Regions from separate parts of the Homo sapiens genome. Here regions 2, 3 and 4 are each linked to region 1. Evidence: promoter capture Hi-C in 16 types of primary human blood cells and fetal thymus (Javierre and others, 2016). All regions are on one chromosome and are shown on one strand. The core of a region is centred on a gene start or on the middle of the fragment in contact, and the rest is flanking DNA. Distances in the headings are between cores, read along the strand shown. Region 1 holds the start of ZNF382 (zinc finger protein 382). Region 2 overlaps ZNF582 (zinc finger protein 582). Region 3 holds the start of ZNF616 (zinc finger protein 616). Region 4 holds the start of ZNF613 (zinc finger protein 613).

Region 1 (7,560 bases), core at 2,932-5,431:
GCTTTTTCTGTTGGAACCTTCATCCTATTTCCTTAATTACAAGTGTAATTTTTTTTTTTTTTTTTGAGACGGAGTCTCGCTCTGCCTCAGCCTCCCTGAGTAGCTGGGACTATAGACGCCCACCACCACACCTGGCTAATTTTTTTTTATTTTTAGTAGAAATGGAGTTTCACCATGTTAGCCAGGATGGTCTCGATCTCCTGACCTCGTGATCCGCCTGCCTCGGCCTCCCAAAGTGCTGGGATTACAGGTGTGAGTCACTGCGCCCGGCCACAAGTGTAATTCTTAATTACAACTGTATTCCTAGCTACTTGGAAGGCTGAGGTGGGAGGACTGCTTGAGCCCAGGAGTTCCAGGCTGTAGTGAGCTATGATCGCACCACTGCCCATCACAATTAACCTCATATTTTCATTGCACCTTATATGTGAATGTGGAATGACTTAGAATATCCACATAATAAGGTTTTAAATTTAAGCTTAATAATTTATTATTATCAGCCACCGTTTTGTTACTCTGTTAATAGTAACTTTGCTAATCCTCATAAAAATCCTTTGAAATTGGTACTATTATTATATAAATAATAAACTATAGAACAGAAAGATATTGAGTATATTGCCCAAATTCACACACAGTATTAATAATTAGCAAAACCTTAGATTTTAATTCAGATACTATAGAATAGGGGTTGGCAAACTTTTCTGTAAAGGACTAGATAGTAAATATTTTAGGCTTTGTGAGCTAAAAGGCAAAATTAAGGATATTATATAGGAGTTTATATAAAAGAGAGATGAAAAATTTCCCCTTTGTTTTTCCTTTTTTTAGAGATAAGGTCTGGAACTCCTGGCTTCAAGCAGTCCTCCCTCCTCAGTCTCCCAAAGTGCTGGGATTACAGGCGTGAGCCACTGCACCTGAACGCTACAATTTTTTTTTTTTTTTAAGATGGATTCTCACTGTCTCCCAGGCTAGAGTGCAGTGGCGCGATCTCGGCTCACTGCAACCTCCGCCTCCCAGGTTCAAGCAATTCTCCTGCCTCAGGCTCCCGAGTAGCTGGGATTACAGGCATATGCCACCATGCCCAGCTAATTTTTGTATTTTTAGTAGAGATGGTGTTTTGCCATGTTGGTCAGGCTGGTGTCGAACTCCCGACCTTGTGATCCACCCACCTTGACCTCCCAAAGTGCTGGGATTACAGGTGTGAGCCACCGCGCCTGGCCACCTCCACAAATTTTTAATTGCCAAAATCCAAAACTTTATTTATGGACACAAATTTAAATTGCATATAATTTTCACATGTCATGAAATATTACTCTCCTTTTTTTTTTTTTCGTGGTCAACTATTAACAAAAAGTTAAAACCAATCAGTTCACAAGCCATACAAAAATACAGGCTACAGGCTGGATTTGGCCCACAGGGCCATAGTTTGCAAACCCCTGTTCTAGACCCAGAGACCATTATACCATACTCACACAGTCTACACAGTTATGTGACTTGGGGGAAAAAAAGAAAAAAACACCTGGCCGGGCACGGTGGCTCACGCCTGTAATCCCAGCACTTTGTGAGACTGAGGCAGGTGGATCACCTGAGGTGGGGGGAGTTCAGGACCAGCCTGATCAACATGGAGAAACCCCGTCTCTACTAAAAATACAAAACTAGCCAGGCATGGTGGCGCATGCCTGTAATCCCAGCTACTCGGGAGGCTGAGGGAGGAGAATCGCTTGAACCCAGAAGGCGGAGGTTTCAGTGAGCCAAGATCGCACCATTGCACTCCAGCCTGGGCAACAAAAGTGAAACTCCGTCTCAAAAGAAAAAAAAAAAAAAACACGTGATGCGGCCAAACCTCATGCAAGAACTAGCTGGTACCATATAAATCTCCTAAGGTATCCCCTCGGAAAAACTTCCTGCCCTTCTTAACAGCTCTCTCTGCACATACTCTGCAATAATATTCTAACTCCTAAGGTCCTCTAAAACAAAAAAAGTTACTATAACCATTCAAACGATCTCCTATCTTGCTGTTTTTCCACTCATGTCTCTGAAGAAAATCTAAACTATCTAATGTGTAATTCTACCTAAGCAATTGGTCTCCTCCGTAACAAATCACCGTGTGAAGGCAGACTATTTCTATGTCATGAGAATGCTTAAACAAAAAGAGCACACAGGAGAAGTGAACATACTGTCAAGGTGTTATATGAAAATTAACTCTAGGAAGGGCATCTGATGAGGTACTGGAAAGAAGGAGATCTGTCTTCATAATGTCATCAGTAACTGGGAAGAGAAGGACTAGAGACCAGGTAAATAGATAAGTCACTATTTGGTGAGCATTTCAAATGAAGTTATTCCACATCCTGAAAAACAAAAATGCATTTCATAAAACAAAGAAAAAAATCAAAATGACCTCCAGCTTTGCTTTAAAATGTGCAACTACAATGCTTTTCTTCTCTCAGAGCTCTTCTCTTGGAATACAGCAAAATGTGGAAAGAAAGGGAATCACAATATACTCAGCCTTTCTTGGAGCCCAGACAGGCTAAATAAGAACACATTCTTCACCACCGGCAAGCTTCCATAACCCATGCTGAATATGACCAGATGGAAGTATGAGAAAGACTGGAATATTGTTGACTCTTCCCTTCATAAAGAAAAGTCAGGTTCACCAAAGCCTGGGACTGAAATGTTTCTGTATTCACAATAATTTCCTTTAGACAGCTATGAAAATGCTGTGGATCTGCAATATTCAACTTGCCCCCACAGAGCTTCCAAAAGGGATCTTTTGGCTAGGCACGGTGGCTCACGCCTGTAATCCCAGCACTTTGGGAAGCCGAGGCGGGTGGATCACCTGAGGTCAGGAGTTCGAGACCAGTCTGACCAACATGGTGAAACCCCGTCTCTACTAAAAATACAAAAATGAGCCGGGCATGGTGGTGCATGCCTGTAATCCCAGCTACTCGGGAGGCTGAGGCAGGAGAATTGCTTGAACCCGGAAGGCGGAGGTTGCAATGAGCCGAGATTGCGCCACTGCACTCCAGCCTGGGCAACAAGAGCAAAACTCCATCTCACACACACACACAAAATCTTTGGAGAAACGAATCCTACTCCTGGGGCCTCAATATCATATCTTCCCAGAACCTTGCCTTGGGAGCAATTCCAGCTCTAACATCTCCATATCAAACACGAGGCTGTGCATATCAGAACACAGCCTTGTCCATGTGAAACACAAGGCTGTGCTTTTTCAGTTGGAAACTTCATTCTGGATCTCAAATATCCAACTTTCTTTTCGATAGCCATTTGACTGCACACTGTGCAACGTGGTTATAAGGTGAAATGACTGAGGCAGTGAAAGAAATCCCAGTATAACAAACTCCAAGAAACCACGTAACTTAAAATTGGCCCCAGAGGTTGGCGAGGCTGCATGCCACTGTGTATTATGCATTATGAAAGCGACAGGGGCCATGCTTTAGAACAGAAGGTCTCAGAGTCTTCACAGACACAGATCGAGCCATACGGGGACCTTGTCCACGTATTCCTGAGCCCCAGAACTGCAGAAATCAAACTCTACAAAAGCTGCACCAGGCCAGTTTTGATCACAGTCTCCAGTGGGTCACAACAGCGCTGTCACAGGATCACTGATAACAGCATGACACATTCATAGTCACCGCTCAGCGCCGTCACACAAACGGCCCCGCCCCCACTCAGTCCCGCGGGCCCAATCGGGGACAGTCAGGGCTGTCCCGGGCTGTGCACCTGCTGTGCACACACACCCCCTGCTGTGCACACCCCCCGCCCCCCCGGGACCATCACAGGCGCGCCCACTCACACCACCACACACGGACGCAGCCACAGAACGGCACACACAAACACAATCACACAGTCTCCCTCCCCAGCAGGTGACTTGCACACAGGCCTGGGGCTTCTGCCTCCACAAACCCTCTCCGCGTCCCATGAACCCAGGTCCCCTGCCGTGAGCTCTTCTCGCATCCAGACCCGGGTCACCTCAACTCACCACATGGAAAACGAACACCAGGTCAACGGAAAAGGGAGCCGGGGTCCTGGCAGAAGCGTAGTGCCAGCCGCAATAGGGCGGCCGTGGGTGCAAACGGAGGGGAGCGCCGGCAGCTAGCACCGCGCGGCGACTAACGGGCCGCCCCGGAGACTCCTGGGAGCTCAGGCCCACGCGCGAGTGCGCAGGCGCAGACGACTCACCCTGGGCCGGGGGTGAGGCTTGGTGGGTGCCAGGGGTGCTGAGGAGGCCAAGGAGGGCACTGGGAGCTCCGTTCCGGGAGAGCTGTCTAAGGACGCGGAACCGGGTGGGGAGGCCAGGGAGGTAACCAAGAGTCCGAGCCGGGCCTGGAAATTCTGAGGAGGAAACCGGGACCGCGGTATCCAGACGCTCCGATCTGTACGAGCCGGGCCTCGGGCGTGGTCCATGGGCGTGACCTTGAGGGTGACCCGGAGCGAGCTCCGCGAAGGGGGATTTTGCCCGTTCTGATCCCGCGGAAGCGCCATCGCTGGCGGCGGGTCCCCGCGCGGAGCGGGCGCTGTGTGTTCGCGCGCGCGGGCGCGCGCTGAATAGGGGTGGCCTCCTGCGCCCAACCTGCTGCATTTTAGGTGCTTGCCTCTCTTTGGGATGTTGTGGCCGATTGTGTGTGAAAAGTGAACGGAGTAGTGTTGCTGCGCGAGGTTTCCTCTGCGTGTGTCTATTTTTAGATTAGGTGTGAGTCGCATTTGAGACTGCCTTTGAGTGTGGAGAATTGCAAGTGATTTGTAGGTGTGGTTGTGACTGCCTGGAGTCGTGTTAGCTGCTGTCTGAGGTTGTGAATGACAAGTGGGGCCTGTAGGTTGGTGGTTCTCTGAAGGATGTTTGATTGACTGTGACTCTGCATGTGTTTGTAACCTACTGTTACTTCTGGTGGTTTTGTGGCCTTAGTGACCTAAATATTTGAATGATTGAGGAACTCTGTTATGACCATGGCTAGTTGGTTATGTAAGACTTGATTATCTGAATAGTAGCCATTAAGCCTGCCTCCAAAACTGTAACTAAGTAGCAATTTAGCAAATAAAATAGAGATAACAGTATCAGAGGGGAAGAGATGATTTTCATAATTCCCAGATTCATTTCCTGGAAACACCATATTAACTAAAACCAGTATGTTGAAATGAATAGCATTCCATTGGGGACATGCAGGAAATTTTTTTTTTTTTTTTTTTTTTACCATAACTACCACTTTTGTTGTTGTTTTTTGTTTGTTTTAAGACAAGGTCTTGCTCTTTTGCCCAGGCTGGAGTGTAGTGGCATGATCTCTGCTCACTGCCACCTCTACCTCTGAAGTTCAAGTGATTCTCCTGCCCCAGCTTCCTGAGTAGCTGGGACTACAGGCTTGTGCCACCACGCTCGGCTAGTTTTTGTATTTTTAGTAGAGATGGGGTTTCACCATGTTGCCCAGGCTGGTCTTGAACTCCTGACCTCAAGTGATCCCCTCCCCCCGCCCCCTCGGCCTGCCAAAGTACTGGGATTACAGGTGTGAGCCACTGTGCCTGGCATAACTACCACTTTCAACACTTGTATATGAGTGAGGTTTCCTACTCCCTTAGGCTTGCTAAGATAATAAAAAGTATTTGATAGATTTTTAATAAGTCCAGTCTCACTGTAGTAATTAAAATAGTTATTTTGCGGGCCTGGTGCAGTGACTGATGCCTGTAATCCCAGCATTTTGGGAGGCCAAGGTGGGCAGATCACCTGAGATCGAGAATTCGAGACCAGCCTGACCAACATGGAGAAACCCCATCTCTACTAAAAATACAAAATTAGCCGGGCATGGTGGTGCATGCCTGTAATCCCAGCTACTCAGGAGGCTGAGGCAGGAGAATCGCTTGAACCCGGGAGGTGGAGGTTGCGGTCAGTCAAGATTGTACCATTGCACTCCAGCCTGGGCAACAAGAGTGAAACTCTGTCTCAAAAAAAAAAAAAAAAAAGATTATTCTCAACTACAACATAGACCAGATAGGCAAAGATTTAAAAGTTGTCAACTGTCTTCATCAGGGCTTGGGAAGGTATTCTCATCCACTACTATCAGTGTAAATTGGCAAAAAGTCCAAGAAGAACCGTTTGGAAATACACAGTAAACCTGTGGTTAGAGGTAGATGGAAGGCAGAGCTGCAGAGGGAAAAACACAGTGTTCCCTCTCTTCAAGCTAAAACAGGTTCCCCAGAATCCTGTATACTTTACCAAGAGACTGGGTTTCTGGTGTTTGTGAGGGAGCCTGATTTGTCTGTTTTCCCACTAACTACCATCCTGGACATCTGAAGGGTACACAGGGTGGACAAGTGCTGAAATAGTGAACATTCATGCAGATTTAACTGAGTTAATTCTGGGAGTTCTGAGTCAAGTATGGTCTCACATACGTATATCCTCCATCTTTGCTTTCTCAGGACTGTTTCTTTTTCCAAAAGAGGAGCTCAAAAGAGAAAGTTCATCTAGAAATCTCAAAGCCATGTCTCAGGTGAGATGATGTTTCCTCTCTTTCTGAAATAACTTTTTTTCATGGTGTATGAACATGAGCTTCACTGTCCTTTAACCTTCCCTGATATTGGGATTTGCTTCCATGAAATTAGTCTTCAGTCAGGGCCAGATTAGGCTGAGGCAGGCAAGTGGCATGAGGTGAAATATTTAAGGGGTACCCTCAGGGCTGTGCCCTCCTAAATTTTGCATTCTAGGTGCCTCACCTGCCTCACCCTGTATCCAGCCCTGTTCACAATTTCTCCATTCCAACCAAATCAACTTAAGCCTTCCCCAAGTGTACCTTCTGGTTGTACATATTCATTGGGTATATCATTCATCATCTCCTTTCTCAGTCTTCTCACAAACAAACTGCTGGAATAGAAAGGTATTGTCTTGATTTAAATGGGAATATATGGCTTGAATGAATTTAACTTGTCCTGATGCTGATTTGAGACCTAAGCTGTGAGTAGTCATGGAGCAGACGTGGAAAAACCTTGATGATCTCCGCTAGCCTAGGTTTTGCAATGGTACGTTGGGAAATAGAAGTGGTAGATCCCAGCATTAGTTTCTGGAAAGATGTCCTGCTTTGTGAGGTGTTTAGGATAGCAATTTGATTGCAGGCTTGTAAAGGAAACACGTTTTATGTTCCTCCTCTCTGATCTTTTTTCATTCATGTCTGCTAGCCATTCCTACAAATTGTGGGCTGCCAGTGAAAACCTTTCCAGTATTCCAATGCTGTTAGAGATTTGTTATTTTCTTTTTAGTTTCTTCTAATTTTTTATTTGCGGGTGCAGGAGAAGGAAATCCATATGCCAGGCCACTTTTGAAATATTCTATTGTTGATCAAACAGTACTTTGTCCTCTTTTCATATCTTTCAGAAAATTCCTCTTTAGCTCATCCACCAACCTTTAAAATACTGGTTTTCCTCAGATGCTAATTGGTTCTCTTCTTCTTCACAGTCCGTTTTTCTCTACGCACAATCAGATTCACTCTGAAGGCTACACTTAGTGTGATTCTAGTGACTCTCAAATACCCCTCTCCACTCTAGACCTCTGTCCAGAGTGTCAGA
Region 2 (7,560 bases), core at 3,148-5,647, about 20 Mb after region 1:
ATTCTCTGATGATTAGTAAGGGGTAACTGCTGATGGAAGGCTTTTCTACATTTATTATATTCACATGTGTTTCTCTATTATGCATTCTCTGAGGTTGAACGGTAGTTGAATCATGACTCAAGGTCTTCTCACATTCCTTATATTCATAGGGCTTTTTCTCAGTGTGAATAACCTGATGATGAATCAATTGTGAGCAATGACTAAAAGCCTTCCCACATTCCTTACATTCATATGGCTTTTCACCTGTATGAATTCTGTAATGTACAGTAAGATGTGAGACCCGTTTGAAGGCCCTACCACATACCTTACATTGGTAGGGTTTCTCTCCAGTGTGAATTCTCTGATGTTGCTTGAGTTGTGAGCTCACTCTAAAGGCCTTTCCACATACTTTGCACTCATAGGGTTTCTCACCGGTATGAATTCTCTGATGTCGTATAAGAGTTGAGCCTTGATTAAAAGCCTTCCCACATTCCTTACATTCATAGAGTTTCCTGCCAGTATGAACAGTCTGATGTTGAATCAACTGAGAACGATGACTAAAGGTTTTCCCACATTCCTTGCATGCATAGGGTTTTTCACCAGTATGAATTCTATAATGTACTTTAAGATGTGAGATCCGATTGAAGGCCTTGCCACATTCCTTACACTGATAGGGTTTCTCGCCTGTGTGAGTTCGCTGATGTTCAATCAACTGTGAGCTTCGACTAAAGGCCTTCTCACAATCTTTACATTCATACGGTTTCTCACCAGTATGAACTCTCTGATGTTGTATAAAATTTGAACCAGAATTGAAGGCCTTTCCACATTCCTTACATTCATATGGTTTCTTACCAGAATGAATATTCTCATGTTGAATTAGTCGTGAGCCATATTTAAAGGCCTTCCCACATTCCTTACATTTATAGGGTTTCTCATTAGTATAAATTCCTTGATGATTAATAAGGAGTTCCTTTTGCCAGAAGTCTTTTCTACATTTATTATACCCAAAAGGTTTTTCTCTAGTATGAATTTTCTGATAAAAAGTAAGGGATGCATGCTGGTCAAAAGTGGGCATTTCTTCATGTCTGATGATCATCTGATGGAAATGTCTGTCTGGATTTCCCTGTTGTCTGTCAAACTGGTTTCTGCATTCCCAATCATCTTGGAAACTTGAACACTCAAGACCATAACTTGTAAGGCTTTCCATTATCTCCCATTGGGGTGATTCGACTTCATAAACATGCTGCTTTGGAAATAATTCCTTGGTATCATATCTGGACTCCAATACTAAGAATGAAAAAAAGCGAATATGTTTGGCTTCTTTTTTTTTCCAGATAAAGGAACTAAAATAAGAACTGGAGGGTTTAGACTCAATGCCTATTAACTCTTGAATGTAGCTAAGCAATTATAAAATGGACAAGTAGAACAGTGAAAGGAAAATAACATACATGAGATGAGGGAGGCAATAAGAGAGGTTATAAAAGTGATTCTAAAATGTTAGTGTGGGGCTGGGCATGGTGGCTCATGCCTGTAATCCCAGTGCTTTGGGAAGCCAAGAAGGGAGAATCACTTGAGGCCAGGAGTTTGAGACCAGCTTCAGCAACACAGCAAGACCCCATGTCTACAAAATAATTTTTAAAAATTAGCCAGCTGCAGTGGCACATGCCTGTAGTCCCAGCTGAGAAAAGAAGACTGCTTAAGCCCAGGAGTTAGAGGCTGTAGAGAGCTATGATCACGCCAATGCACTCCAACTTGGGTGACAGAGGGAGACTTTAAAAAAAAAAAAAAAAGAGTTGGTGTGGGTCAGAATCACTATTGAACAATATTTTTTAAGACAGTAAATGTTTCTGTGAGACTCTAGAAAAGACAAATATAGAGTGACAGAAACCAAAGCAAATCATTGGTTTGACGGACTGTGCAGGAGGGAGCACAAGGGAACTTTTTGGGTTGATGGAAATGTTCGCTATCTTGATTGAGGTGATGGTTATGTGGGTGTATAAATTTGTCAACACTCATTAATAGCACATTTTAAAAATGCATTTTATTGACCATAAATTATGCCCCCAAAAGAGTGAATTTTAAAAAGATGATGGGGATTTCAAGATGAAAAGAGTTCCGGAGATGGACGGTGATGATGGTTGTACAACAGTGTGAATGTACTTAACACTACTGAACTGTACACTTGAAAATGGTGAGCACGGTAAATCTTGTATTTTACCACAGTTTTAAAAAATAAAAATAAAAGTGGTGTTGGAAGTGTGTGGTTGGATCTGCAACCTGCCTCAGTGCCTGGAGGACATGCAGGAGAATGAACCAGAGGAATATGCTGGTACAGTGGCAGCTATTCTCATGTGTCCGCTAGAAGTTAGAATGACATGGCTGCTGTCTTCCTCTGTGAAGCTTTTTATATCTGAAGTTTAGCTGAACACCATGGTGTTTTTTATATCTGAAGTTTAGTTGAACGCCATGGCTGAAGCCCATTATCAACTGAATGACATTTCTTAAATTTCTTAAATGTCATGCATTTACCTGAACCTTTTCATTTCTTAAAGGTGACCTTGGAAAAAGAAGGGCTTTTTTCCTTGTTTAGAGGATTAGGCCAGTTGATTGAGGGTGGGTCCTTCTAGAGCAACATACTTTGCTGATTATTCAAACTGCATGAAAAAGCTGAATGCTATAATGGACTGTGATTCTACCTGGTACATTATTTCAGCTACAGTGGCAGGTTTTACTGTACTTATAGCAACCAACCCCAGTTGACTTAAAGAGACTCAGATATAGCTTGACTACAGGTGGGCACCACCATGCTCAGCTAATTTTTGTGCTTTTTTGTAAAGATGGGGTTTCGCCATATTGCCCAGGCTGGTCTCAAACTCCTGGGCTCAAGCAATCCGCCTGCCTTGGCCTCCCAAAGTGCTGGGATTACAGGCGTGAGCCACCATCCCCAGCCTCAAAGTACTTTTTGCTGAGAATTTGATTCTGTCCTAATTTGCTGAATCATACATCATAGATTCAAGGTGATGTGCTAACAAGGATATCATTTTTAAATGTTGCCATGAAGTTCAAATGCACCTTTTCATACTTTAAATTGATATATGTATATAACCCTTAAACGTTTATGTTCATGATAATTCTGTTGAGACTTCTGGCTAAGGATGTTGCTATACTGGTATATAAAATGTGCACAATTAAACTCCAGTGTGATACTACTCATTTCAGTATATATGAGTGCTGTATTTTGTGCAGTAGCTTTATCTTAATATGGCTCTTTGTGAATGCACTTTATAGCATTTATTGAGGGTGAAAGAGCAGGAGGGAATTCTATGTTACGTATTTCTATAAAAACATTGGTCATTTATTCAACAGAACCAGTATTCCTAACATTTGTCTGGGTTTTAGATATGTTGTTCTGCAGATCTATTCACTGTAGTGATCCCAACATTATTGAAAATTACCAAGCTTTTACTGCTCTCACCAGTGAAAAACTGTACCTTCTTAAATTCTGTCAGCATGTCACATTTATTGTAATCAACAGTAACTGGATGTTTCTGAGGTGTTTTGATTGGACTCAAAAGTATTACAATCAGTTTGGAGACAAAAACACAATCTGCATTTTAGTTTAAGTATGACACTGATGACTTAAAAAAAAACTATATACAAACGTTCTATATAAAGTTTGCCTCCAAAGTATTTCTCTTTCTCTTTCTTTTTTGCAGGGGAGATGGGGTCTCATTCTGTTGCCCAGGCTGGAGTGCAGAGGCACAATCATATTATACTACAACCTCAAACTCCTAGGCTCAGGTGATTCTCCTCTGTCAGCCTTCTGAGTAGCTGGGACTACAGGCATGAGTTATTACGCCTGGCTGCAGAGGGATTTTAATATGTAAAAGTATTAACACAGTGTATTAACTTTGTGCCCACGCAAATCTCTTTTCTATCACATCCTTATGTTCTTCGACAGATTGACTTTTATGCTTCTCCTTTTAGAAACATAAAATTGTTTTATTCTTAGTTTTAAAAAACATTTGAATGTGTACCCTTGCTTATGCGAAGATTTATGACCTACTAGTCATAGCTAAATAGTCAACATTGTAAGAGCTGATACTTTTTGGTTCATGTGAGGTTTGGCATTCTTGCATTTATGTACACGGATGTCAATTGTGTGGACTTCTTCTGTATTTATGTTAACTAGCTTTTACTGAATTGTTGAAACTAAAAAAGTTAAAAACGTGCTTATAAAAAAAGGGGGGGGGGATTATGTCCAAAGAACCCAGGAGCCAGTTTGAAAGGGTGTCACTGGGCAAGTCTGGAAAACTATGAACGTTGTGATAAATAATGATAATGGGTAATAATCTGTTACAGGATAAAACAAGATTTATTTTATTCTGACCTGGAAATGAGAAAAAATATGCCACCTACTATTAATCCATATGATATAAATGAAGAAACAAATGGTGAAAGGGAGAAAGCTCTTCTTTACAGGAGTATGTGATCTAATAAATAAGAATAAAGTTTTTTTAAAAATCACTATTTTGTAACTATTAATCATATCTGATCCAAGAGAAAACTATCAATGACTTCTGAAACTAGCAGGTGAATAATTTGTGAGAAGCACAATATTTATATCCTCTCCAGGTGGACCATAAAATCATGGCTTGCCTCTATTTCTACAGTGCTTTCCCTCTGCCCACAGTGCAGAACCCAAACTTCATAACGTGGTTGCCTTTCCTAGCGTATCTTTTTTTTTCTTTTTGAGACAGAGTCTCTCTCTGTTGCCCCAGCTGGAGCGCAGTGGTTCGATCTCGGATCACTGCAATCTCCGCCTCCCGTGTTCAAGCGATTCTCCTGCTTCAGCCTCCCAAGTAGCTGGGATTATAGGCACGTGCCACCACACCCGGCTAATTTTTGTGATTTTAGTCGGGACGAGGTTTCACCATGTTGGCCAGACTGGTCAAGTGATTTGGCCGCCTCAGCCTCCCAAAGTGCTGGGATTATAAGCATGAGCCACCATGCCCGGCCCCTAGTGTATCTCTGTGTTCCTCCCTTTGCTCACTGACCTCAGCCACAAGGGCCATCCATTATCTCAGAGGTACCAAGGGCTCCCTGCTCAGGTCCTTCACACTCATTGGCTACAACTGGTATTCCCCAGCTACATCACACCTTCCATGTCTCAGCTGAAATGCCTTATCCTTGAAGAGGCCATTGGCCCTACCATGCACCCTGACTGAACCTGTTCTTTTTCTTTCACATATTAGCTCATGTCCAGTGTGTATGATTTCATGTCTATTTTCCCACTGCAGTGTAAGTTCCATGAAAGCAAGGATAATGTCCACCTGCCTCATCAATGTATACTGTGGCATATTCCATGGTGCATAATAAAAGCTTAATAAGTACTTGTTAACTGACTCCAGAATTCAAACAAACCGATACAAATTCCTTTAGAAAAATGGTCAAAGGACAAGATCATGTCCTTTGCAGGGACATGGATGGAGCTGGAAGCCATTATCCTAAGCAAACTAACACAGGAACGGAAAACCAAATACTGCATGTTCTCACTTATAAGTGGGAGCTAAATGAGGACACATGGACACACAGAGCGGGACAACACACATGGGCCTTTCAGAGAATGGAAGGTTGGGCGGAGGGAGAGAATCAGGAACAGTAACTAATGAGTACTAGGCTTAATACCTGGGTGATGAAATAATCTGTAAACAAACCCCCATGACACAAGTTTACCTATTTAACAAACCTGCACTTATACTCCTGAAGTTAAAAAAAATTTTAAATATTAAAATTAAAATTAATAAAAAAAGAAAAATGGTCAAAAGATACAGACATCTTTCCAAAGACAAAATACTTTCCTTAGGAACCACCATATTTGTACTCAGTCTAGCCCTATAATCCAGGTTGAATTTTTAAAGTGTTTCAGGAGGAAGGAGCAGCCACCTTTGTCAAATGCTGCTGACGAGCTGAGGAAAACAACACGTAAGACATAAGCTTTGAAGGTAGCAACCTGCAGGGAAGATCTTCTAAGACAAAGGGCCACTTCCAGCGGACCTGATACCTGCAGTGGCTGCTCCCTTCCCAATGATACCTCACTCACCTGGACACAGGCCTCCAGACACCACTCTCTCCACCATCCAGGGCTCTTTGCCTTGCTCTAGGAAGGAGATCACATCAGGTTTGGAAACGGCAAGACCTGGAGATGAGAAGAAACATGCCACCTGGTTATGGTGTGGGGGCCCCAGAATTCAGATCCAGGACCTGGTCATCAAGCAGGAGAGGCAGTTGCAGGAAGTGCCAGAGGAAGATGGGACAGTTGCCTGGGGGTAGGGGGATGCAGCTTCAGCCGACAGCGCCGCCCTTTAACCCCTCAAAAATGACCAACCAATCATAAGACTGAAAAGCACCCAAAAACTGACCAGGAAGGAACATGCCCAAGGATAACCTCCAAACTAACAGACGAGATCACCTTACCCAGTGAGACCAGGTTGCTGTAGGTCTCCAACATCACGTCTCTGTACAAATCCCTCTGAGCAGGTGCCAACCACTGCCATTCTTCTTGGGAGAAGACTATGGCCACATCCCTGAACAATTCTGACCCCTGGAATGACAGGCATGTATGATATATATGTATTTCAATGGTTCACAGTGGGATGAAAGGAGATGGGGCAGGTCTTTGCGGGAGGGGGGGTTGTTTTGTTGAACAAGAAGGGTGGGACTGAATGTGAAAGGTGACAGAAGAAATGGGGATGAGTAAAACAGAATGATCAAATTGTTCTCAAACATTCCTTTTAACTGCAAATCAATGCTCTGTGTACAGGTCTGGGATGAAAATTAAAATCAAGCTAAATGGAGTTTTCCTTATTGTTAAGAAACAGTGTAATAAAGCACACTGCCCACTCTATACTTGGCATACAATAAATTCTCAAGGTGAGACCTATCACTTCTATCTTTTGGAATAACAATAACAACAAAAAATATTTCTGATGGATTTTCCCCAAATATTTTATTTTTTAAAATTATGGAAACATGTTTTCTATCTTAGATACAGGATTTTCATGTAAGTCAAGAATTTCTTGGAGATGAAAGTTCATCATTATGTTGGAACATAACACAAGCATTTTTCTTCATGGGAAAAACCATGGAGATAACTTTTATTGAGTGCACAATTTTCTATCAAGTGAAACAACTGACTCAAACATCCTCTTATTTTGGATCCCGAGGTTGGATCAGATCTCTAAGGCTTTTCCAAGCCCTGACCACTCACCCACCTAGATGATCATCTCACTTGCTACATCGCTCACCATCCTCAGCTCTGTACTTTTCTTCCTCTTAAGCTAAAGAAACTAATGGAGGATGTCCCAGATTCAAATGCTCTGTCCAACGTCAAACTAGACTTTAATTCTGGCATCAAATTTTTGATGGATTCCCAGCCAAACCTCAATTACATATCCAATCATTAATCATTCCCAAAGCAGGACACTGTACCATGCGCTGAAACTGAAACCAACCAACACCACCTCCCCTGCTTTTCTATATGTGATTGCTCCTAAGCATTCATTCCATCTCTTCAAACTT
Region 3 (7,560 bases), core at 1,563-4,062, about 16 Mb after region 1:
AAAGAAAATCCTGCCGGGCACAGTGGCTCACGCCTGTAATCCCAGCACTTTGGGAGGCCGAGGCGGGTGGATCATGAGGTCAGGAGATTGAGACCATCCTGGCTAACACAGTGAAACCCCGTCTGTACTAAAAAAAAAATACAAAAAATTAGCCGGGCGTGGTGGCGGGTGCCTATAGTCCCAGCTACTCAAGAGGCTGAGGCAGGAGAATGGTGTGAACCCGGGAGGCGGAGCTTGCAGTGAGCCGAGATCACACCACTGCACTCTAGCCTGGGCGACAGAGCGAGCGAGACTCTGTCTCAAAAATAAAAAATAAAAATAAAAATAAATAAAATCCTGCTATTTCCAACAACATGGATGAATCTGGAGGACATTATGCTGGGCGATATAAGACTGACACACAAAGACAACTACTGTATGTTCTCACAAGTAGAATCTAAAAAAGTCCAATTCATAGTAATAAGGCGGAACAGTTGTTACCACAGGATGCTGGGTGGGGAAAGTGGAGAAATGTTGGTCAAAGGGTACAAATTCTCAGTTATAAAATGAAGAAGTTCTGAGGAATCTAATGTACTTCGTGGTGAGTTTACCGCACTGGACGCTTTAACAGTTTGGAAAGTTTTTGAAAAATCTAATAAATTATGGGGTAAAAGTTAAAAAAAGGCAATATTGAGAAATTAATGACATCAGCTGATTACAGGATGACATCAAATCTTATTTCAGAAGTTAGTAATTATAGAAGAAACTGAATAAACTAAAATTTAAATCAAGCTTCCAAAATAACAATGAATTAACTGTAAAGCAACTACAAGGAAAAAAGTAAATCCATTAACAAAACAAAAAACCAACACTCTCAACTCTCCTTCAAAGACATACATTGTAGGCCTGTAGAGGTGGTTCACACATGTAATCCCAGCACCTTCAGGGGCTGAGGAGGATGGAGTGCAGCTGAGAGGCTGCAGTGAGCCGATATAATTTTACCGCACTCCAGCCTGGGCGACAGAGACCCTGTCTCAAAAAGAGAAAAAACAAACAAAAAACCAAAGATACATCTTGTAGTGACAGTCAGTCATTTCTTGCCTATTTCTCTCCTCCTCCATCCTCTACTCCCTCCCTGGAAAGAAGAGTTACAAAATGACTGAATCAAGTCACTGCCCTGTGGCTAAATAGGGATTCCAAATATCTTTTGATATAAACAAATACAAAATGCACAAGCCTTGTAGAAAAGAGTGGTAATTTTCATCCTCATGAGTACAATTTAAAGAAACAAATTTTAAATTAGAGTATAAAGTCACAAATCAATACATTAAAACCACCATCCATATCCAATCAACTCACAGCTCATCTGGGTGGGGTCCTCGCCCACTCTCTTCACTACTATGTGTTTCCCGCTCTCATTCTGCACGTCTTTTTTCCCTTTGCTGTTTTTCTCCCCTTTCTTTATTCCCTCTTTTATGTCTATTCTGCCCAATGCTTCGAAATTTATTTCACCTCTTGTTGCTCTTTCTCCCCAAACTTTCCCATTGTCCCCAGCCGCCACGTATTCCTGCCTCTTTTCCCCCATCTGAGCTCCCTGTCTGCTCTCCCTGTTAAAATCCCTCTTCCCTGTTAAATTCCCTTTTCCCTGTTACATCTCCTTTGTTCCCACTCTCTAGCACCCCCAACTTCCTAGGCTTCCTCCTTGCTGTGGTTCTCCCTCTACTCTCCTTTGTTACCCACTCCCCTCTCCTTCAGTCCCAGCACCACGTGGCTCTGTCAGCCGCGGCTCCGACTCTTACCTTTTCCGCCCCCCGCGTCTGACTGCAGTGCCTCCTCCTTTGCCGCCCCTCTCTATTTTGCTGCCCTTCAGCTCCCTGAAGCTCTCCCTTTTCCCTAATTTCTTTATGTGCTTTTCTCCCCGTGCTACTTTCTCCATGCGTCCTCTTGCACTCTTGCTCTCTTTGCCAGTACCTAAATTATCATCCATTTTGCCGTGTACTCATTCTTTTCTCCCCAGTTTTTCTTTCTGTCCCGTCGCTCCCCCTCTTTTCCTCTCCTGATCCCTCTCACCCACACATTCAGGAGGAAAGGGGAGGAATACGATGCCCACCTCCCGGAAGAGCACATTTTCCAGTGGAGTAAAAATTTGGGAAGGAACGACAGTGGGTGTCACAAGACAGACTCGGGTGACCTCCTGCAACGCGGAGTCAGGAAAAGCAGTGGCTGTGAAGGGGCAGCCTGGGGAGGGGAAGGACCCGGCGTGAGGAGGACACTAGGTGGCGCGCGGAGGACACTAGGTGGCGCGGGGGACGGTGTCTCAGGACAGGGAGGGTCTGCAGAATCCCAGGACCTGGGAGAAGAAGCGGCTCCTTCAGGAGCTGGGCAGCGGGCGCTCCCCTCCAGGCGTCGACAAGGGCGAAGCTCGGGGGTCTCGACTGGTGGGAATCCACCTCGCGAGGGAGGACTTGACTTCGCCCGGGGCCGAAGCAGGGGTCAATGAGAGTTTTAAGCAGGAACACGACCTGAATGGGGTTATCGACATGGTTATCTACATGGCAGAAAGGCAGGGGGCAAGGAACAGCCTGAGAGAGATTTTAAACCGACAGGGAAGCAATTCTCGGACTTACGTGGGGAGAAGTGCCTGTTGCAGGGGCGAAGGGGCTATGGGTATTTTAAGGTCCGTAGCGATCCCCAGATCACTGGTACGGAGAAGTGAGGACTGCAAAGTGCACGTTTAATCCAGGCAGACGGAGCGAAGTAATGTTTAATCCACGTAGACTGAAACACACACACAGCGATAAGGCCTTTCCCTGGCGCAATCTGCTTCCGGGAGTGACGGAAACTGCTAGCGGAGAGAAAAAACTGGGAGGCCAGGGGGCGGGGCCTGGGCGAGCCGCGACCAGCAAGGGGCGGGTCGGAAAGAGGGGCCTGACTCGGGGAGGGACCCTGAGAGGGTGGAGCCGGGCCGGAGCGGCAGTGGGCGTGGCTAGGTGGGGCGGGACGGAGCCGCGGCGGAGGATGGGGCGGGGTTTCATGGGGTAAGCGGGGCCGAAATAGAGCCTGTTATTTACTCTGGTTCACAGGCAGCATGTCTTTGGTTTTCTGACTACTTCTTGTCCTGTGAAGCAGCGTTGCTGCCTGCCTATTTTAAGTTAATGTTTCAAAATTTAAGGTTAAAGCTTAAAGTTGTGGTCCACTTATATTAGAAACTAAGATGATTTCTTAACAAGTTGAACTAAGTCAAAACCGATTTTTACAAGCTTGGTGGACTCCATCCACTCTTGCCGATGATGCTGAAGCTACTCAATAGTCAGGGAACTAGGATCTCGCTGGGGATTTGATGTGGAGCCGTGGCTGGATCCAGGAACCCGGAAGACATTATGCCAAGCGAAATATGCTAGACACAGAAAGACAAATACTGCCTGTGCTTTTACACGTGCAAAGTACAAACGTCAAATTTACAGTAACAGATTAGAAGGGTGGTTACCAGGGCTGGGGGATGTATCCTATGCCTTTATCACCATTATATTTTGGAAGCAGATAACTTCTCTGGCCTCACAGATTCACAGCTGGGCAGAAATTTTGCCTCAGGATGAATCACACCTTGATTCTCACCCATGTGTGGTTCAGATAATATTTAGGGGGTATTCTGCCCTAAGAGCTGATACAGGAATGGATTAAGACTTTTGAGAGTTGATACTGAAATGGATTAAGTCTTTTGAGATGGGCCAGCAGTTTTGGAGGCCCAGGTGGGCAGGTCACTTGAGCTCAAGAGTTCAAAACCAGCCTGGACAGCATCGTGAGACCCCCATCTCTACAAGAAATACAAAAAGTAGCCAGGCTTGGTAATGCACTCTTGTAGTCCCAGCTACTTGGGAAGCTGAGGTGTCAGAATTGCTTGAGGCCAGGGATTTGAGATCATCCTGGGCAACATAGCCAGACCTCTCTACAAAAAATTAAATTATCTGGACATGGTGGCCTGCACGTGTGGGCCCAGCAACTCGGAAGGGTAAGGAAGGAGGATCATTTGAGCCCAGGAGGTGAAGGCTGCAGTGAGCCATGAGAAGAGGAGATTTGGTTGGGTGCAGTGGCTAACGCCTATAATCCCCACACTTTGGGAGGCCAAGGTAGCAGGGAGCTAACTTGCATTCTTCTGTTAGCTGAGGCGTTTGATGATAAATGAAAGCAGAAAGTTTGTGACTTATTTACGTTCTTTCCACAGAAAGGCCATATGTCCTTGGCCATAAAGAAAAAGAGACCTACAGCTTATCTGCTTCCTCTATTTTTTTTTATATGTTCTGGACCATGAAGAAAGATTTATAGCTTATTTGCTTTATCTCTTTGCTTTCTCCTGGTCCTTTCAGGCTGACTCCTTTTCCCCAATTAGGGCTCCACAGACTCTACCCTCAAAGGGCATTTTTTTCTCACCCTCCTATAAAATCCCTCCCACAAATAAACCAGGATCCTATTTCCCAGCATGAAAAGTTTGTTGGAAAAAAAACTGAGGCTGCATGGGACCTTCTTTCTCTTCTTCAAAACTACTTCACCTCTTCTCTCTTTTGTCTCTCTCTTCCTAACTGCCCTGCACAATTCTAGGTCCCCAGTGAATCCTTGGGTTGACATGCAAGGGAAGAACCCATAGGGAAAGGAAATCTCTGGCTTTCAGAGATAACTTTTTGGATATCTGGATGCATTCATAACCATCCTTGTGTTACCAGAAAGGGGTCCTGATCCAGAACCTGAAACTTCCATTGCACAATTATAACTGAGAAAATTATTACAGTGAAAGAGATCTGACCTAATCAACTCCATCTTGCTTTTAACCTCCAAGCTGCTCTTGTTCATTCCTGGGCATAGGCTGAACTAACTTTGGAAGGAACTTAGTTTATAGTTTGAAACAAAGACATTAACAGCCCTTTCCCAAAACAAACCCCCTTCCTGCTTGGGGACTAGACTGCCTTTGTAAGACTAACAAATTAGGCACAAGGTGAGAGATGATGGTTTAGGAGTCATGTAGCTGGAGGCTACAAGATTCTCACCCTTCCCAGATTGTTCCTGGGGATAACATTACTATTATAAAACCTAAGATCAGTGCTTGAGATATTTTGCATTCCCTGCACTTGATGGATCACCTGACACCAACCCAGATCCATAAACTGGCTCATCTGGTCTTGTGACCCCACCCAGGAACTGACTCAGTGCAAAATGACAGCTTCAGATCTCTATGATTTCGTCTCCTACCCAACCAATCAGCACTCCCGACTCACTGACACCTACCTATCAAATTATCCTTAAAAACCCTGATCCCCGAGTTTTCAGGGAGACTCATGTGAGTAATAAAAAAATTTCAGGTTCCTGTACAGCCAGCTCCACATGAATTAAACTCTCTCTTGCAATTCCCCTGTCTTGATGAATCAGCTCTGTCTAGGCAGCAGGGAAGGAGAACCTGTTGGGCAGTTACAACCAAAAGGGAGGGTTCTTGGATCTCATGCAAGAAAGAATTAGGGGTGAGTTCACACTGTAAAGTGAAAGCAAGTTTACTAAGCAAGTAAAGGAACAAGGCAGGGTGCAGTGGCTCACGCCTGTAATCCCAGCACATTGAGAGAGGCTGAGGTGGGCAGATTGCTTGAACCCAGGAGTTCAAGAGCAACCTGGGCAACATTACAAAACTCTATCTCTACAAAAAATACAAAAATTAGCCAAGGGTAATGGTGTGCACCAGTAGTCCAAGCTAGTTGGAAGGCTGAGGTTGGAAATTGCTTGAGCCTGGGAGAATTTTTTTTTTTGAGGCAGTGTCTGGCTCCGGTCACCCAAGCAGTAGTGCAGTAATGCCATCTCGGCTCAGACTCTAATTCAACACGGAATGTTGAGCTTCTGAGCGTGATATAGCGGAAGTGCCTTCTCTTCCGGTCTCTCTGGTCTTGGCCGCAGAAGCCAGATGACGAAGGGAACGTCATTGTTTGGAAAGCGTCGCAATAAGACGCACACGTTGTGTTGCCGCCGTGGCTCTAAGGCCTACCACCTTCAGAAGTCGACCTGTGGCAAATGTGGCTACGCTGCCAAGCGCAAGAGAAAGTATAACTGGAGTGCCAAGGCTAAAAGACAAAATACCACCGGAACTGGTGGAATGAGGCACCTAAAAATTGTATACCACAGATTCAGGCATGGATTCTATGAAGGAACAATACTTAAACCCAAGAGGGCAGCTGTTGCAGCATCCAGTTCATCTTAAGAATGTCTATGATTAGTCATGCAATAAATGTTCTGGTTTTAAAAAATACAAAAAAAAATACTGAATGTTTACTCCTGAAACTTATGATGCCTAGGTTGAGAAAGACTCAATTTTCCTCATGCTAAATACTTTATACATGTCCTTTATTCATGCATACATAGGACACTTTACACAATATAATTGTTGAAAGTGCTTCTGAAATACTGTTCAAATTGTCTATAATATTTTTACACATGCACTATAAAAATTAAATTTATCAGACAATAAATATTAAATAATTTAATAAAATTGCATTTTTCAAAGGCTCTAACAATGCATATTTGAGTTATCATATTAAACATTGTATTCTATGATTTTTCAACTGTAATATAATTTTTTTTGAGATGGGATCTTGCTCTCTTGCCCAGGCTGCAGTGTGGTGGTGCAATCACGGCTCATGCAGCCTCCACCTCCCCAGGCTCAAGTGATCCTCTCACCTCAGTTTTTGTGTTTTTAGTAGAGATGGGGTTTTATAATGTTGCCTAGGCCGGTCTCAAACTTCTGGGCTCAATCTGTCCACCTCAGCCTCCCAAAGTGCTAGGAATACAGGCATGAGCCACAGAGCCCAGCCAAAACTACATTTTAAAAATAATTTTTTATCATTACACACTCCACTAGAAACCATTTAACCCAATTTATGGACTTACATTTCTTCCATTGAAGAACTTGAAGGATCCAAAAATCGAGGTGACATTCTCAGATTTGTGTGGCAAAAAAAGAATAGAAAAATAACAGATGCAAAGAATGTGTTCCACCAATATGTGGAGGATCCCTTTTATTTTAAGTTCAGGGAAAGCATTGGAATGATACAAGAAAATAAACTGAAATTGTATAATGTGGAAACAAGAGCTCTGTTGCTAATATGCAAGTTTATCACTGAGATTTTAACAACACAACATGCTAATTATACCTTAAAATATGTTTCTCCCAGTCTGGGCAACATGGCGAAACCCCATCTCTACAAAAAAATCCAAAAATTAGCTAGGTATGCTGGTGTGCACCTGTAGTCCCAGCTACTTGGGAGGCTGAGAGAAGAGGATCACCTGAGTCCAGGAGGTGGAGGTTGCAGTGAGCTGAGATCGCACCACTGCACTCCAGCCTGGGTGACTGAGCGAGACCCTGTCTCGAAATATTACAATATGTGACAGCGCAGCTTCCATCAGAAATAATTTGTTCCTCTTTTGCCCACACAAAATATTCACCTCCACTTCCTCTAACATTTTTTTTTAAAAAAAAAAGCCCAAACATAACTTTCAGTTGCAAGCAAGGATCTCATGACAGTCTCATGACACTTCTGTTCACTGAGAGCC
Region 4 (7,560 bases), core at 1,971-4,470, about 15 Mb after region 1:
AGCACTGTTCACAATAGCAAAGACTTGGAACCAACCCAAATGCCCATCAATGATAGACTGGATAAAGAAAATGTGGCACATATACACCATGGAATACTATGCAGCCATAAAAAAGGATGAGTTCATGTCCTTTGCAGGGACATGGATGAAGCTGGAAACCATCACTCTCAGCAAACTAACACAGGAACAGAAAACCAAACAGCACATGTTCTTACTCATAAGTGGCAGTTGAACAGTGAGAACATATGGACAAAGGGAGGGGAACATCACACACCGGGGCCTGTTGGGGGTTGTGGGGCTAGGGAAGGGATAGCATTAGGAGAAATACCTAATGTTGGTGATGGGTTGATGGGTGCAGCAAAACACCATGGCACATGTATACCTATGTAACAAAACTGCACGTTCTGCACATGTACCCCAGAACTTAAAGTATATATTAAAAAAAAAGATTATAATGGAGCTGAAAAATTCCTGCCATCTAGAGACGTGGTAGCCATCTCAAGGTAGTAGCATGTGTTACTCAGTTGTCAGTGATGATGCTGGTGTAGACAAACCTACTGCTCTTCCAGTCATATAAAATACAACACATAAAATATGGATAGTATGTAATTCTTGTTAATGATATACATGACTATGTTACCAGTGTAGGGGAAAGAAAGATAGATCAGACTGCTACTGTGTCTATGTAGAAAGAAGTAGACATAAGAAACTCCATTTTGTTCTGTACTAAGAAAAATTCTTCTGCCTTGAGATGCTGTTAATCTGTAACCCTAGCCCCAACCCTGTGCTCACAGAAACATGTGCTGTGTCGACTCATGTCCAAGGTCTAATGGATTTAGGGCTGTGCAGGCTGTGCTTTGTTAAAAAGTGTTTGCAGGCAGTATGCTTGGTAAAAGTCATCACCATTCTCCAGTCTCGAGTACCCAGGGACACAATGCATTGCAGAAGGCCACAAGGACCTCTGCCCAAGAAAGCCTGGGTATTGTCCAAAGTTTCTCCCTGCTGAGACAGCCTGAGATATGGACTCATGGGAAGGGAAAGACCTGACTATCCCCCAACACAACACCCATAAAGAGTCTGTGCCTAGGAAGATTAGTAAAAGAGGAAGGCCTCTTTGCAGTTAAGATAAGAAGAGGGCATCTGTCTCCTGCTCATCCCTGGGAATGGAATGTCTCAGTTTAAAACCCAATTGTACATTCTATTTACTGAGATAGGAGAAAACTGCCTTATGGCTGGAGGTGAGACATGCTGGCAGCAATACTGCTCTATACTACACTGAGATGCTTGTGTAAAGTCAAACATAAATCTGGCCTACGTGCACATCAAGGCACAGCACCTTTCCTTATTTATGACACAGAGAACTTTGTTCACATATTTTCCTGCTGACCCTCTCCCCACCATTACCCTATAGTCCTGCCACATCCCCCTCACCGAGATGGTAGAGATAGTGATCAATGAATACTGAGGAAACTCAGAGACCAGTGCTGGCAGGAGTCCTTCGTATGCTGAGTGCTGGTCCCCTGGGCCCACTGTTCTTTCTCTATACTTTGTCAGTGTGTCTTATTTCTTTTCTCAGTCTCTCATCCCACCAGATGAGAAATACCCACAGGTGTGGAGAGGCTGGCCCCCTTCATAAGGTTGTTGAGATTTATCTATGTTGGTGCATGCATCTATGATTTGTTTTTTATTATTGTTCAGTAGTATTCCAGGGTATGATTACACTGCAATTTGCTTATACATTCATGTACTGATGGACACTTGGACTGTTTCCTGTTCAGGGTATTATGCATAAAGGTGCTAAGAACATTCTTGTGAGTCTTTGTGAGGACATATCATTTCATTACTGTTGTATAAGTATCTAGGAGTGGAATTCCTGAGTCATAAGATTCTTGCTTTTATTTTGCAATTCTCCTAAGGAGTCATATAGTTCTGTAAAGCTTTTCACTCTTCACAGATTTGATATTTTAAGTAACACGGTATGTTTCTGAAATGGAGTTTGCATTTTGGGGCATTTTCTATAGATGTATCATGAAGGACACGTGAAAACTCTGTTATAAATATAAACACTCCACTGCATGCAGGAATTTCCTTCTCATTCTTCCAATGGAATTGTCTTAATTTAGGTTGGATCAGAATTAGAATTTACGTTATGATGACTATGTAAATAATATTTATAGGTCAGTCAGGTAGTATCCTATGATTACTTTTCTTGCACAACTTTTTTTTTTCTTTTTTCTTTTTTTCCTCATGAAGGGGTTGCCAAGGCTGTGTAGTGCAGTGGCTATTGATAGGTGCGATCATAGCTCACTGCAGCCTGGAACTCCTGGGCTCAAGCGATCTTCCTGCCTTGGTCTCCCCAGTAGCTGGGACTACACGTGTGCGCCATCGCGCCCGGGCTTGCACAACTTTTCATTCTCCCAGAGTCGCCTTATTTATTCCTTCCAGAATTTTAGGCACTTGGTTCTCCGAAAGCCCCGACGTTAAGATTGACTCCACCTACAGCAGAGGGAAGGCCCTTCTTCTCTCTTAAGGAAAATTCCCGCCTCCCGCATTGGATTCCTTTTCCGGTTGGCTGGTGGCTGCTCTCTTTACCTGCACTGGGCGGTGACCGTGTCCCTCAAATGTAAATGAGGTTCCAGGGGTCGCTGTTTTTTCACTTTCCGTTGACGGGGTGAACAATATCCTCGTACCTCGATTGCCTCTCCACACCCTTTTGGTCCTCAAAAATCTTCCTCTTGTCCTCCACATGTAGCTAGATGCGTTTTCGCGGTATATGACTCAGGGTGCGATTGCTCTTTTTCCTCTGTGGAGAAAGCGTTTTCACTTGTACGGACACCTAAGTGTTAAGATGGCCGCGCCCATTGTGTCATTCCCGTCATTCTTTGTGCAAAGCGGATGACTTTTCTCCCCAGCCCGCTAAGGTGCACGTAGCCATACCATGTTTGTCTTGGCTAAGCTCGACCCTCTGAAAATAAATGAAACTTGGGCGCAGGATTTAGGTGCCAAAATATGGAGTTCTTCACCGTCCCGCGCTATCCCTGAATACTTGGGCAGAAAAGGTCCACTTTACCTTCCGTACGTGCAGGATTCAAAGATGGCTGCCTCCAGTATCCGTGACGAGAGGACGCGAACTTACTACCTCCCAGTCGTCCGTGCTCCGTACACCTGCAACTTCAGACCTTCCTCGGCCGCCGTAGGCCGGCTTGGAGGCTGGGGGAGGGCCCAGAAGTGGAATAATTCAGGAAAGTGCAGGTTCTGGGAAGTCTCGGTGGGTTCCCCGCAAAATCAGGTCTGTGTGTGGGTCTGTCTGTCAGGATGAGGGGAGGAGGGTGTCTGTGGGCGTCCGTTTAGTGCGGAGCCGTGGAGTTTGTGGGGGAAGCGGGAGCAAGTGGGAGTCGGGGTATTGGGGTTGGGGCGTCTCCGGAGTCAGCCCTGAGGGATCCCAGTGGTCGGTGGTCAGAGTCTGTCCAGAGCAACACTTGGAAGTCCGTGATCAGGGTTTGGTGCCTTTGCGGGTCACTCTGTAGGGCTCGGTGATTGAGGACTGGAGTGAGGAGTGGTTTTTGTCAAGGAAAACTGTGTCTGCTTCGGATTCGGGGTTTTATTTTTTATTTTTGAGACAGGGTCTCGCTCTGTCACACAGGCTTGAGTGCAGTGGCGCAATCGTGGCTCACTGCAGCCTCCATCTCCCGGGGCTCAGGTGATTTTCCCACCTCAGCTTTCCCGAGTAGCTGGGACTACAGGTGAGCGCCACCACGCTATCTATCTATCTATCTATCTATCTAATCTGTCTAATCTAATCTATCTATCTATCTATCTATCTATCTAATTTATCTATCTAATCTATCTGTTTATTGCAGAGACGGGGGTCTCACTATGTTGCCCAGGCTGGTCTCCAACTCCTGGCCTCAAACGATCCTCTCACCTTGGCCTCCCAAAGTGCTGGGATTACGGGCGTGAGCCTTCGCTCCAGGCTGTAATCAGGATTTAATATGCGACTCAGTGAGGAGGAGCCCGGGTTCATGTGAACCTAGGTGTGTGGTCCAGGTTTTTGGATTAATCTAAGGGGGTGTGACCATGTTAGGGAGGTCTAGATGTGACAGTCGTGGAGAAGCTTGTGAAGGCTGAAGCCTTGGCAGCCAGGGCATCCTGATTGGTGTGTGTGTTCAGGTCCAACGGTACATTCCCTCTCAGTCCCTTTTAAGTTTCTCTGCAAGGACTGGTTTACAAATCTCATTTGACTTCTCACATCTCTCCTTTCTCTCATCCTGGTAAATAGGAAAGCTTTGGGGAAGATCAAAGATTAATCAAATCTAAAATGGTAAGGTGGCCTGGCGCGGTGGCTCACGCCTATATTCCCAGCATTTGGGAGGCCAAAGTGGGCGAATTGCTCGAGCCTAGAAGTTGGAGATCAGCCTGAACAACATAGCCTGTCTCTCCAAAAAATACAAATATTAACTGGGTGTGGTAACACACGCCTGTAGTCTCAGCTACTCGGGAGGCTGAGGTGGGACGATCACGTGACCCCGGGAGTTCTAGGCTGCAGTGAACTATGATTGAGCACTGCACTCCAGCCTGGGCAACAGAGTGAGACCCTGCCTCAAAAAAAAAAAAAAAAGAAAAGAAAAGGAGAAAAGAAAAAGGAAAAAACAAAACGAAGAAAATGATAAGGTTTCTATTAAAGATTTTCGTTCTTCTTCCTCAGGTTTACTGTGTGAATGTGTGTATACACACACGTAAATATTTTCTTTCAGGTTCTGACACAAGTAAAACATCTCTCTTATCCCAAAATGTGTTCCCCAGTAATGACTTTTGATAAGATTTTTGTATATTTCAATTTCAGTTTTCTATGCTTGATTTTCACAATGCAGATAAGCTGCTGAAACATTGGTATAATTTGCCGTATTTAATTTTACATTATGAACGTTCTTATAGTAAACATATCATCCATGTTTTTGTTTAAAAATTTTTTTTTAAGATTTCTGTAATAGTATACCATCAAGAGGCAAAACTGCACCACTGTGACTTGAATCACTAAGTGTATGGATATATTTAGATAGAATTTTAAGACTTAAAAAGTTCACTTATCACTTTTAAGAATGGGTTACAATTCTATGTTTACCCAAACATGTTTCTCCCTGACCCTCATCAGCACCTTAGTTTTTAATTTTTTTGCAATTGTAAATGGTGTGTTTTTAATTTTGACCTTTCTGTTCTCTTCTAATTTACTCTTACATAGAAGAGCAATTAGTTTAGAAAATATTTACATTGTTTTTGGTCACCTTACTGAACAAACTTCCCTGTTCTCCAGGTTACAAAAACTTTCAAACATATAACATGATTTAAAGAACTTTACAATTGAATACCTGTTTGCCTACCATCTGGATTTTATCATCATTTTATTGTGTTTCTTTTATTACATATCTATCTATATATCATCCTTCTACTCATCATTAATCCACCTTTTTTTCTTTTTATAGAGATGGCATCTCACTATGTTGCCCAGGCTGATCTTGAACTCCTGACCTCAAGTGATCCTCTCTCCTTGGCCTCCTAAAGTGCTGGGATTCCAGGTGTGAGCCACTTCACCCAGCCACATTTATCCATCTTGTAAAATATTGCTTTGTTTTTTGGTGCATTTCAAAGTAAGTTGCAGACATTCATACATTTGCCCCTGAATATTTCAGTAGGTTTATCATAATTAAGTTCTACTGACAGCTTTTCCTAATTACAGGTCTATTAGTCCCATACTGTATAATTCAGTGGCTTTTACTATGTGCGGCCATCACCAAAGTCAACTTTAGAACATTTTCATCACTTAAAAAGAAACCCTGTACCCTTTTGTTACCACTCCCTATGCCCTACCACTAAGTAATCTCTAATCTACTTTCTGTCTCTATAGATTTGCTTATTTTGACCTTTCTGTTTTCTTCTAATTTACTCTTATTTCATTTCATGTAAACGCTACAATATAATATGTGATCTTTTGTGACTGGTTTCTTTCACATAGCATAATTTTTTTTTTTTTGAGACAGAGTCTTACTCTGTCACCCAGGCTAGAATGCAGTGGCGTGATCTCAGCTCACTGCAACCACCACCTCCCAAGTTCAAGTGATTCTCCTGCCTCAGCCTCCCAAGTAGCTGAGATTACAGGTGCCTGCTACCATGCATGGCTAATTTTTGTATTTTTGGTAGAGACGGGGTTTTGCCACGTTGGCCAGGCTGGTCTCAAACTCCTGACCTCAGCTGATCCGCCCACCTCAGCCTCCCAAAGTGCTGAGATTACAGGCGTGAGCCACTGCGCCCAGCCAACATAGTATAATGTTTTCAAGGTTTGTCTGTGTCGTAGCATGTATCTGTACTTCATTCTTTTTTATGCCAGAATAGTATTTCATGGTATGGATATGGCATCTTGTATTTATCCTTTCATCAGTTGATGGACTTTTGGGTTATTTCCCCTTTTTGGCTATTATAAATAATATGCTATAAACATTTGTGTGTAAGTTTTTATTGTTTTTATTTCTCTTATATATAAGCCTAGAAATGGAGTTGTTGGGTTATATGGTATGTTTAGCCATTTGAGGGACTACCAGACTTTTCCAAAGTGGCTGCACCATTTAACATTTCCGCCAGCGATATTTGAGGGTGTCCATTGCCACCATGTACCTACCAACACTTGTTATTTTTAGTTTTTTATTACAGGCATTCTAGTGGGTGTTAGGTGGTTTCTCATGGTTTTGATTTGCATTTCTCTGGAGACTTATGTTGAGCCATTTTTCATGTACTTATGATATACATAACTGAGGTACATGTATTTTTACTAAATATGGAATTGTTAGTATTTTTAATAGCTAGATAGCTCCATTTCTGGATGTGTGTACTTCTAATCAGCCAGTTAATCCTGTTAATAGACCTAAATCCTTTACGTCAACTTTGCATGCATGTGTCGCTATTTCCTTTACAAAAATTTCCAAGGTGGATTTTTGGGTTCTAGTAATATCTCAAATGGAAGTATTCAATGCAAAGTGTTATTTCCAAAATTGTTTAGTCACTTAATACTGATAAAAAAGTATGTCTATTTTGGAATGCTTGCAACTTTTAGATATAAAATCATCAATCTGACTAAAAACTTATTTTTTGTATATGTTCAATTGAATCTATAAAACTGTCACTCTTCCTTAGTCATATAATTTATTTCCTCTTCTCTAATATTGATTATTTATACTTGATTCTTTATCAAACTAACTGGGTAGCCTTTCCAGAATAGTTAAAATAGTGATAATCATCCTGTTCATCTTCGATATTGCTCTTGACTTTAGAGAATGTACTTTTATAGTTTCATAGAACTTTTTTTTCTTCATTCCTAGAACTTCTGTAGGATGTATTTAATTTTTTAAAATGAGGTAAAATTCACAAGACATAAAATTAATCATTTTAAAGTCAACAGTGCAATCGTTCTTAGTACAGTCACAGTGTTGTACAACCACCACTTGCAGCCACTTCACATTCTCCCCTCCAGTAGACCCTGGCAACCAACTATGTGCTTTCCGTCTCTTTTTG

What was found. The method cuts DNA at HindIII sites, captures the fragments that hold promoters and counts their contacts. A CHiCAGO score of 5 or more calls a contact.
Region 2: a contact is called between a fragment that was not itself captured here and the fragment with the promoter of ZNF382 in region 1, in 1 of 17 cell types (naive CD8 T cells). The highest score is 6.0, in naive CD8 T cells.
Region 3: the fragment with the promoter of ZNF616 here is called in contact with the fragment with the promoter of ZNF382 in region 1 in 2 of 17 cell types (activated CD4 T cells and non-activated CD4 T cells); the score reaches 10.6 in activated CD4 T cells.
Region 4: the fragment with the promoter of ZNF613 here is called in contact with the fragment with the promoter of ZNF382 in region 1 in 5 of 17 cell types (non-activated CD4 T cells, total CD4 T cells, total CD8 T cells and 2 more); the score reaches 14.7 in non-activated CD4 T cells.

Annotation. Positions count from the first base shown.
Region 1 is chr19:36,601,132-36,608,691 of GRCh38, forward strand. ZNF382 (zinc finger protein 382) reads left to right here and starts at 4,182. Exons shown (of 5, transcript NM_032825.5): 1 at 4,182-4,216; 2 at 6,421-6,491. It also overlaps a transcript of ZNF529 not described here. RefSeq lists enhancers at 3,454-3,593, 4,574-4,633 and a silencer at 4,154-4,213. The HindIII fragment of the contact is 5,073 bases long and covers 2,553-7,560 here.
Region 2 is chr19:56,383,919-56,391,478 of GRCh38, forward strand. ZNF582 (zinc finger protein 582) reads right to left here. Exons shown (of 5, transcript NM_001320371.4): 3 at 6,457-6,583; 4 at 6,083-6,178; 5 at 1-1,266. It also overlaps the pseudogene SLC25A36P1. Among named protein-coding and RNA genes, the nearest start is that of ZNF582, 5.8 kb to the right of the region's middle. RefSeq lists an enhancer at 1-942. The HindIII fragment of the contact is 1,923 bases long and covers 3,437-5,359 here.
Region 3 is chr19:52,137,126-52,144,685 of GRCh38, forward strand. It overlaps ZNF616 (zinc finger protein 616), which reads right to left and starts at 2,813. Exons shown (of 4, transcript NM_178523.5): 1 at 2,607-2,813. It also overlaps the pseudogene RPL37P23. RefSeq lists an enhancer at 2,409-2,648 and silencers at 2,769-3,048, 3,059-3,108. The HindIII fragment of the contact is 2,387 bases long and covers 770-3,156 here.
Region 4 is chr19:51,924,252-51,931,811 of GRCh38, forward strand. ZNF613 (zinc finger protein 613) reads left to right here and starts at 3,221. Exons shown (of 6, transcript NM_001031721.4): 1 at 3,221-3,289; 2 at 5,481-5,645. RefSeq lists enhancers at 2,241-3,004, 2,860-3,159. The HindIII fragment of the contact is 2,177 bases long and covers 1,936-4,112 here.